Regions from separate parts of the Homo sapiens genome. Here region 1 is linked to region 2. Evidence: promoter capture Hi-C in human tissues and cell types (Jung and others, 2019). All regions are on one chromosome and are shown on one strand. The core of a region is centred on a gene start or on the middle of the fragment in contact, and the rest is flanking DNA. Distances in the headings are between cores, read along the strand shown. Region 1 holds the start of AP1S1 (adaptor related protein complex 1 subunit sigma 1). Region 2 holds the start of SH2B2 (SH2B adaptor protein 2).

Region 1 (4,248 bases), core at 1,749-4,248, 1.1 Mb before region 2:
CTCTACTAAAAAAATAAAACTTAGCGGGGTGTGGTGGTAGATATCTGTAGTCCCAGCTACTTGGGAGGCTGAGGAAGGAGAATTGCTTGATCCGGGGAGGTGGAGGCTGCAGTGAGCCGAGATCGTGCCACTGCACTCCAGCGTGGGCAACAAGAACGAGACTCCGTCTCAACAACAACAACAACAACAAAAAAAAAAAAAAAAAAGGAAGAGTCTGGGAAGAGGAAATGATAGGTACCATTATGAAGTGTTTACAGATACTTGCTATACATTACCTCTAATCCTCAGAACCACCTTGCAAGATATGTACTACTGTCCTCTTTTTTTTTTTTTTTTTTTGAGACAGAAGGCTGAGTCAGGAGGCTGAATCAGGAGAATCACTTGAACCCGGGAGGTGGAGGTTGCAGTGAGCCGAGATTGTGCCACTGCACTCCAGCCTGGGCAACAGAGCAAGACTCCATCTCAAAAAAATAAATACACAAAATAAATAAATAAAGTGGAGACAGGAGGTGAGGCCTTACCAACAATTGCATCATGTGCTACTCAAAAATAATAGCACATTAGTTGCCAACAATTATCTACCATTAACTTTTCTGCATGACAAAATTTAAGATTTTCTCTTATCCTTCTATCCAGACCTCTTTACTTTATCATTTGTGCTAGGGAAGCAGGAGCCTCAGAGAGCCAGCATAAAGCCATTTTAAGTTCAGCTCCATCTTGAAACTAACAAGGCACATTCCTTGTCAGTCACAACCCAAAGCTGTTTACAGTTGGGGAAACAGCTTAAAGATACCTGCAAGGACAGACTCCTCCAACTACAGAAAATCCAGATGCCCCAATACCCATAACAATATGTGCCTTTAAGATAATTATAGTTCTGGCTGGGTGTGGAGGCTAAGGCAGGATTGCTTTAGGCCAGGAGTTCGAGATCAGCCTGGCCAACATTGCAAAACCCCCTCTCTACTAAAGATACAAAAATTAGCTGGGTGTCGTAGCACATGCCTACAATCCCAGTAGTGAGACCCCATCTCTACAACAAAATATTTTTTTAATTAATTGGATGCACTGGTTCATGCCTGCAGTCACAGCTACTTGGGAGGCTGAGGTGAAAGGATGTAGCTGTAATCCAGCTATTAGGGATGCTGAGACACAAGAATGGCTTGAACCCAGGAGGTGGAGGTTGCAGTGAGCTGAGATCACGCCACTGCACTACAGCCTGGGCAACAGATCAAGACTCTGTCTCAAGAAAAAAAAAAAAGGAAGAAAGATAATTAAGTTTTGCTTTGATGTACTTACCTACTAGAATGTCAAGGATAGTTAAATTAACAGAATAATAAATTTTGTCATGCCATTGGCCCATCTGCACATTGACTCGGCTTAGTTTAGTCTCTACAAAAACAAGACCCCTATATAAGAAAAACTTAAAGGTCAGGGGCGGTGGCTCATACCTGTAATCCCAACACTTTGGGAGGCTGAGGAGTGTGGATACCTTGAGTCCAGGAGTCCCAGACCAGCTTGGGTAGCATGACAATACCCTGTGTCTACAAAACATACAACTATTAGCTGGCTGTGGTGGTGCATGCCTGTAGTCCTAGCTACTTGGGAGACTGAAGTGGGAGGATCGCTTGAGCTCAGGAGGTGGAGGCTGCAGTGAACTATGATCATGCTACTACACTCCAGCCTGGGCAACAGAGTAAGACCCTGTCTCAAAAAAAGAAGAAAAAAAAAAAGAAAGAAAGAAAAGAAAAACTTAAGACAGTGTGTTCCTCTGTTTGCTTTCTGAGGACGCCCTACTCCGTAAGGGTGTAGCTTTCAATAAACTCTCTCTTCTCATCGCACTCTACGACTTGCTTTGGGTTCCTTCCTGCATGAGATCCAAGAATTCTCTCTTGGGGTCTGGATCGGGACCCCTTTTTCCAGTAACATGTAGACACACACACACATTCAGTTTAAAAGCCCATATTACAACGTACATCCACCTCATCTTCACACTGAGATTTGGGTGACATCTGTCCCTTTTTGAGTTTTGACCCAAGTTAACCTTTTAAGACGCTCTTTATTTCTTCCCCTTTTGCCTCAGTTCACGTTCCTCCCCCTTCTCCTTACATGCCTTTTATAGCAGCCTCTCCTTTTCTCTTTTATTCTTTTTCTACACATTTCTCTTACTGTAAAATCAGAAGCCAGGCGCGGTGGCTCACGCCTGTAATCCCAGCAGTTTGGGAAACCGAGGCGGGAGGGTCTCTTGAACCCAAGAGTTCGAGACCAGCCTGGGCAACATAGTAAGACCCCCGTCTCTACTAAAAAAAAATTAAAAATTAGCTGGGCATGACGGTGTGCGTCTGTAGTCCCAGCTACTCAGGAGGCTGAGGCGGGAGGATCGCTTGAGGCCAGGAGTTCAAGGCTGCAGAGAGTCACGATCCCACCACTGCACTCCAACCTGGGTGACGCGGCCAGACCCTGTCTCTAAAAAGAAAAAAACTAGAGGGGTGTATCTATCACGCTTTCAATAGATATTCAGCTTGGGTTCTATACTTTTCTCATGACCCTTTGTCTTTCTGTTTTCCAGGTCACTCCTCCTCCCCTACACTTAATTCCCACCCTGCTCCCTTTTCACGGCCCACTCCCCTTCCAGGAGTCCTGCCTGCTGCTTCGAACTCCAATGATCGTCCCATTCACCTCTCACCCCTTTTCCCGCCTTTTTGCCCCACAAGGCTCCAAAGCGCGAGGACCTTATTGTCCTCCTCCCCCATCCTCCAACCAGCCCACAGGACAGCCGCGTTACCATGACGACCGGGCTCCTAGAAGCTGCAGTCAAGGACCTGGTTGCCATGGTTTCCGCTTCTCCGCCTCCAGCCCCGCCCGCGCTCCCCGCGGCGTCGGCGCCTGCGCAGTGCGTGGCGCGCCGGGAGTCAGAGCCTGGGCGGGACGGGGCGGGGCTTCGGGCGAGAGGGAGGGCAGCAGGAGAAAGGATAAGAAAGGGAGTGGGACTGGCGCCTACGGTGGCCGAAGTGGGACGCGCCGAGCCGGAGGCTGCAGGATGGTAGGCTGTGCGAAGAGGGAGGGGAGGGGGAAGCGAGGGGCGTGGGCTGCACCTGCGGGGGTCCTCGGGGGCCGCCCTCGGGGTGAACCGCCCTGTCTTCCCTCTGGTCCTCAGAGGCCTCCCTTGCCTCGGCGGGTGGGCGAGCCGGGCTCGGGAGGAAGAGGGGGAGGTGGCATTCGGGAGAGGGGCGGGGAGGGGGCGCATTTGCAGGGCGAGCGGGGGCTGACGAAGGGGCGGCGGGGCCGTCCCGAGCCGGGAGGGGCGCTCTGGTCTTGGCCCCTGGGGTCCCTCGATCCCCGCTGCAGGGAAGCCGCCCGAAGCAGAGGGTTGCGGGAGTCTCTTTGCTGAGGGAGGGAGCGGGGGTCACCAGTCACCGAGACCCCCTTCCCGGGCTGCACAGGCGGGAGCGGGGACCCGGGTGGGGAGAGGGGTGTGGGAGGGGAGTTTCCGGGTCGGAAAAGGGAGCGCCCTACTGCGTTCGTGGCCGTGCTTGCCTAGAGGCTGGGCCCAGGTAGGGAAGCGAAGTGGACTCGTGGTTTTTCTCCGAGGGACCCAGGCTTTGGGATCCCGGGCTCCGGGGCTCTCTGCCCCCCTTCCCATTCTCTTTCCGGAATCCAGGCCTTCCGTCTTCCTGCTTGCTCCCCACCCCCCTATTTGAGCGCCGCACGAGGCTCCCCAGCGCCCCTCTTTTCCCCTCCACCAAAAAAATCAGTTCTCCTGAATTCTGATTTTTCACTTACTAAGCTAGTACAGTGCCACACACCCAGGGATTCCAAGCCTGGGCATGTCCATGAATAGAAGAGCTACTGGGGTAAGGAGAAGACTCCAGGATGTGGCCCAGACCCCCCGGAACTGGGAAGCTGGGGTACACTGGGCAGTGAGGGTTCTGTCTTCCATCCCACTTGACCCAGCTTGCTGTCTGTTCTGCAGACATTCTTTTAGGGGAACCCCCTGGGTGGCGGGGCCCTAACTGAGGGAAATTGGTCACCTGGTGTCTGGGGAGGAGTGGGCGCTTAGCAGGAGGCACCCTAAAAGGAAGAAAAGTTAAAGAGAAATGTCGAAGACCAAATGCCTGGGTGCCTGCAGAGAGGAAGATAGGATTTGGGCATCTGCATACCCTGTGTGGTGTTGGAGATACATACTACAGAGGAGGATACCCCTGGGCATAGGCCTGGCACTGGAGGATGATATGTTTGGGAGATCATTAA
Region 2 (4,803 bases), core at 780-3,279:
CTGTGCTACCTCTGTCTCCATTTTAGTTCTGAACAGTCTAAAGCATGTGTATCCAGGGGCCTTTCTTTGGGGTCCCCGTCCCAGCACCCCTCATCTCCCCCATGAGGACTTCTTCCAAGCCCCTCAAGCCTCCTGCCCTCAGGGACCCAGGATGGACCTTTCCTCCCTGACCTTCATTCCTATCCCCAGCGAGGCGACAGCTGCTCTTGGCCAACCACGCCCCCTCCACCCCCACAGCCACTTCCACATCTCCATCAGTTCCTCCTTGTGGGTCCGAGGCGCTCTGCCGCCGGCCCCTCCTCACTTCTTCCTCCCTGGGGATGGATCCAAGCTATTGTCCTGCCCATGGCTTCCCATCTCAGGACCCTCTCTGGCCGCTATCATCCCAGCAGTGGAGTTCAGCCCACTACTCTGAACCAGGTTAGTCCACCGCGGGTCAGGCTCTCCCCTCTCCCAGGAGGGTGGAGACCACAACCAGGCCATGTATGGAGCTTCCCTTTCTCCCACTCTCGGGCACCCCCTCCTCCCCCTTCCCGGCCTCATTCATAGGTGTCCTGGTTCCCAACCAGGCGTGCAGGCCTGTGTGCAGCTCCGATCGAGGGCTGGCCCACTGCCGAAGCTTTCATTAAAGTGTCTGCTGGCCTGGTCCTGCGGAGGGAACAGAGCCGAGATGTGGGGCAGGGAAGGGGTCTGCCTGTCTTCCGTGCCCCCGTGGAGGGCAGCACCGGGGTTTTGGGCAGCAGGTGAAGGCTCTGTCCCCTCCACCTTCAACTCTGGAAGCCCCACCTTTCCATCCCTAAGAAGGGTTTGATAAAAACCCTTGTCTGTAAATTAGAGATGGGAAATGGCTCTGGGAAAAGTCAGAGGTCAGTTTGGGCCCGGGAGGGCGACAGATGGAGGCAGCTCCGGCTGGCAAGGAGACCAGGACAGAACTGCCAGAGGTGGGGGCAGGGGACAAGGAGGGAGATGAGGGGAGAAGACACCCAGGGGTCCCCCCCTGCTATCTCCAGGAGCAAGACTACTCTCTTCTCTGAGCGGCCCTTTCCACACCTCTGCCCCCACCGAAGCCCTCCCTCCCCTCTCAGACCCCTTCCAGGCCTGCTGAGCCCCCTGCACCTCTTTCAGGAAGCCTCCCAGAGCCCCCGCGCTGTGCCCTCAGCACCAGGGGTCAGGCTACAAATGCCCCGCAAAGCCCAGCGGGACTGTTTCCTCAGCCCCACTGGTCTCTGCCCTAAAGCAGGCGAGTTCTGGAGCCAGGCAGGGGTGAGGAAGGTGCCAGGGTTGTGGCCCCTCATCGCCCCTCTATGATCTCTGACACCTCTCCGGGTGGCATCAGGCCCCCATCACAGCGAAGGCTGGGTGGTGGGGGCACTGCGCTCAGGGGGGCCGTCCCGCCCTGTGGCCCGGGGGCGATTTCCCGCACCGGAGGGCTGCAGGGAGGGGGCGTGGTGGCGCCCTCGAGATTTATGAGAACCAGGCGTCGACTTCCTCCGTTGCGACATCCAGGCCTCCTCCAGGCTCCCATTGTCCCTGCTGCGGAGAGTCTGGCCACAGCGGCGGCTCCCGCGAAGCACCCGTCAGCGAGGGGCGCTTCGAGGGCGTCCGCGTCCCATACACCCGCCACGCAGGACATTCCCCCGGCCCCACGCTCCGCGCTCCCGGGGCCACCACCACCGCGGGCTCGAGGGGTGGCCTCCACGAGGAGGAGTGGGAGTCCCGCGCCTGGCCTGGGGCCGGCTCGGCGACATGGGGACCCCCGCCCAGATGGGGCGACTCGGAGCCGGCTCCTAACCCCTCTCTCCGGGCCCCAGGACCGGGCAGTCTCGGCACCGCAGCTGCGGGGAGCCAGCAAGCACCGGCCACCGGCGCCGCTCGGGCTCCGCGGATGGCCGGGGGCGGGGCCTGAGCGGCGCAAGTGGGGGCGGGAGGGGGCGGGGCCAGGACGCGCGAGGGGGGGCGGGGCCGGGGCTCGCGGCGGGGGCGGGGGCGGGGCGGGGCCGGGAGGCGCGCGCCTCGCGGGCGGAGGGGCGCGCCGCGCTGGGGCTGGGCTTGGAGCGCGCGGAGCTCGGCTGCCAGAGAGCCGCGCGGGGGACGCGCCGGGACCGCGAGGAGCGCAGGAGCCTTCGAGGCGGTGAACGAGGGAGGGAGCCCAGTCCGCCGCGGGCCATGAGCCACCGGGCCCGGGGAGCCCGGCCGCGGTCCGGGCAGCGCTCAGCCGGCGCCCCAGCCCGCTCGGCCGCAGCTGCGCGCCTGTAGGTATGGCCTCCTTATACCCAGTTCCTCGCTCCCTGGTCCTTCCCCCGGGACCCCTGTCTGTCCCCGGGGACGTGCGCTGTGTGCGCACCGCTGCCCGAAGGAGAGCGGCCGCACGCGCCTTGGTCCGCGCGTGTCGTCTTTGTGTGCGCGGGTGGGAGGGAGGAGGGCGCGCGAGGGAGGGGAGGCGCCCCCGGCTGGGATCTGCTCCCCGATCCCCATCCCGGGCGGGGCGGGGAGCCGCTGGAGGGGCCGAGCCGCCTCTGGAGCAGCTGCGCCCCCGCCCCCTGCTAGGGCCCCGGCCGGGTAGTGGGGCGAGAGCAGCCGGGTCCTTAGAGGAGGGGTCTCTGGTTGGGGGAAGGGGTGCCCAGGTCTCTTCCCTACGCTGGGAGCGCTGGGAGGGGGCGTCAACCTAGAATGAGGGTGAGGGCCACGGGATGGGATCGGGGAGGACCTCCTCCAGGCCACAGGCACGCCCTCCCTTTGGCCCAGGCCCCCCTTTCTCGACCTGCCCAGCCGGGGAGCTCCCCGGAGCCCCCGATTGCCGGGAGGATCGTGGAGGGTGCCCAAGAGGCCGGCGCCTTTAAGAAGGGGCGGGTTCGTGCCCTCCATTCAGGCCCTTGGGCCTCGGCCATTGATGAACCTGCGGGCTGCGCGGGCCGGAACCGCGCCAGCCCAGCGGGCTGAAGCCGGGCAGAGGCAGGGACGCATCCTGGCCCCCTGCAGCCCCGAAGTGGGGGCCTTCAGGGAGGGAAGTCTGCAGTGACTGGAGCCTCTCAGGAGCCACGCAAGGCAGACCGGGCAGCCCCAGGCGAGACTCTGAACACGAATAAGCCAGGATCTACGTGCACTTCGAGCTAGTGCAAGGGAGAGCCTCAGGCTAGGCTGTCAGACCTGGGTGGAGCCCTACCAATGCCCCCGAGCCAACATCACCTACCCTGTAAAATGGGATGGTGCTGCCTGCCTCCTGGCTAAGGGACCGGCAACTCCCGGCAGGAATTGCGTCCCAGAGTCAGGTCCCTGGAGCTCCTCTGGGAGGACTGGGGGCAGGGGGTGTGGTTTCCCCAAGAGGTTTTGACTGCCTCTTGAGCTGAAGCCCCCACTACTGTGTCCCACCTTGAACTCTCCCAACCTCTTCCCTCCTGGCCTCCCCACTCCACGCAGGAAGAGGTTGGGAGAGTGACCTAGAACTTTTCAGCTCCAGGAGCTTTGGGAGAGGTCTGGTGGTGGCGGTGGTGGCACTTCTTTTAGGCTAGTGTGGATCAGGGCATTTTTGGGGGTCTCAGAGACAGTTTCCCACCAGCTACTTCCTTAGAGGTCTGTCCTACCAACATACAAGAACAGCCCCACCCCGTGGCAGGCCGGCTTCTGATGCTGCTTGGTTGAATGCTTCTAGGTAATCAAGGGTTAATGCACACGCTTTTCTTTTTACCCTTGTTGTGAAAAATCTGTCTGAAGTTTCTAAATCCCTCTTCCCTACTTAGCGTGAATCTCCTAGGGAGGACTTCTATACAAATACCCAGGGGTGGGCTTCCCTTGGGGGTCTTGGAAGTGGGATCTCCACCCAAGTGATCCTGGGCCTCCCAGGGCTGAGCTTTTGGTTTCAAACTTACTTGTGCCAAGCTAAGGGCATCAGGATCGCCGTTCGTGTCATCTTTACAACAATCCTGTGGGTTTAGTGCTATTATTATCCCCACACACTTAGGGAGGGGAAGTGACTGGCCCAAAGTCCCGCAGTCAACGAGCCAGGCCTCCCAACCACTCCTCTCTGACAAGAGGCTGGCACTTCTTGCCCTGCCTACCCAGCCTGGGTTGCAAGGAATTGGGGGTTTAGGGGCTTCAGGCCTCCTGGCTGCTGTCTTCCCGGGGCTACGCTCATTCTTACTGTCCAAGTGAGGCCAGGGGACTGGTCAGAGCCCTGGGGCCTGGGGAGGTTTCTCTTCCCTGCTCACCTGGCTGGGTGCCGTTTTATGGCTATGCTCTGTCTAGGGGGATAGCAGGTGTGACCCCTCAACACGAGGTCACAGCCCACACCTGTTTGGGCAGAGCAAGGCAGGGCATCGCTGTGTGGGCGTGCAGCATCTTTTGGTTCCTCTGGGTGAAGCAGGGTTTGGGCCCCATTCTCCACATACTTCCGGGCCATCTGAGGGTAGCGCCCACCTGGGGGGTGGGGAGGACAACCAGCCAGGAGCTCACGGTTCGGTGGAAGAGACAGGCCACAGCCATGTGGTGTGGTGGAGGGGCAGGGGGCAAGGGTGGAGGTGGGAAGAGGATCAAGGGGCGTTCCCGAGGCCTCTGTGGGCTTGGGGGCCTGCCTGCTATTGGGGCAGAACAGGGGAAGTAGGCAGTGCCCAGCTGGGTGCTGAGGCTCTGTGCAGAGGACAGGCAGGAGTTGGAGGAAGAGGATGTATTTGAACTTGGATGTGGTGAGTTTGAGGTACCTGGAGATCAGCCAGGCTGGGAGTTGAGCTCAGAGAAAGGCCCAGGGAAGCTTTATTAGCACCTGTAGTCTCCAGAGTTCGGGGATGCTCAGATCTTAGGGGTGCCACC

What was found. Contacts are between HindIII fragments. The study calls those that stand out against the background at their distance.
Region 1: a contact is called between the fragment with the promoter of AP1S1 here and the fragment with the promoter of SH2B2 in region 2, in 1 of the 25 tissues and cell types used here (dorsolateral prefrontal cortex).

What each region holds. Positions count from the first base shown.
Region 1 is chr7:101,151,478-101,155,725 of GRCh38, forward strand. AP1S1 (adaptor related protein complex 1 subunit sigma 1) reads left to right here and starts at 2,999. Exons shown (of 5, transcript NM_001283.5): 1 at 2,999-3,040. The coding sequence starts at 3,038. RefSeq lists a silencer at 2,741-2,980 and enhancers at 2,791-3,085, 3,405-3,905. The HindIII fragment of the contact is 24,473 bases long and covers 1-4,248 here.
Region 2 is chr7:102,284,839-102,289,641 of GRCh38, forward strand. SH2B2 (SH2B adaptor protein 2) reads left to right here and starts at 2,030. Exons shown (of 9, transcript NM_001359228.2): 1 at 2,030-2,256. RefSeq lists silencers at 1,348-1,927, 1,998-2,537 and enhancers at 3,688-3,777, 4,448-4,497, 4,688-4,803. The HindIII fragment of the contact is 12,688 bases long and covers 1-2,682 here.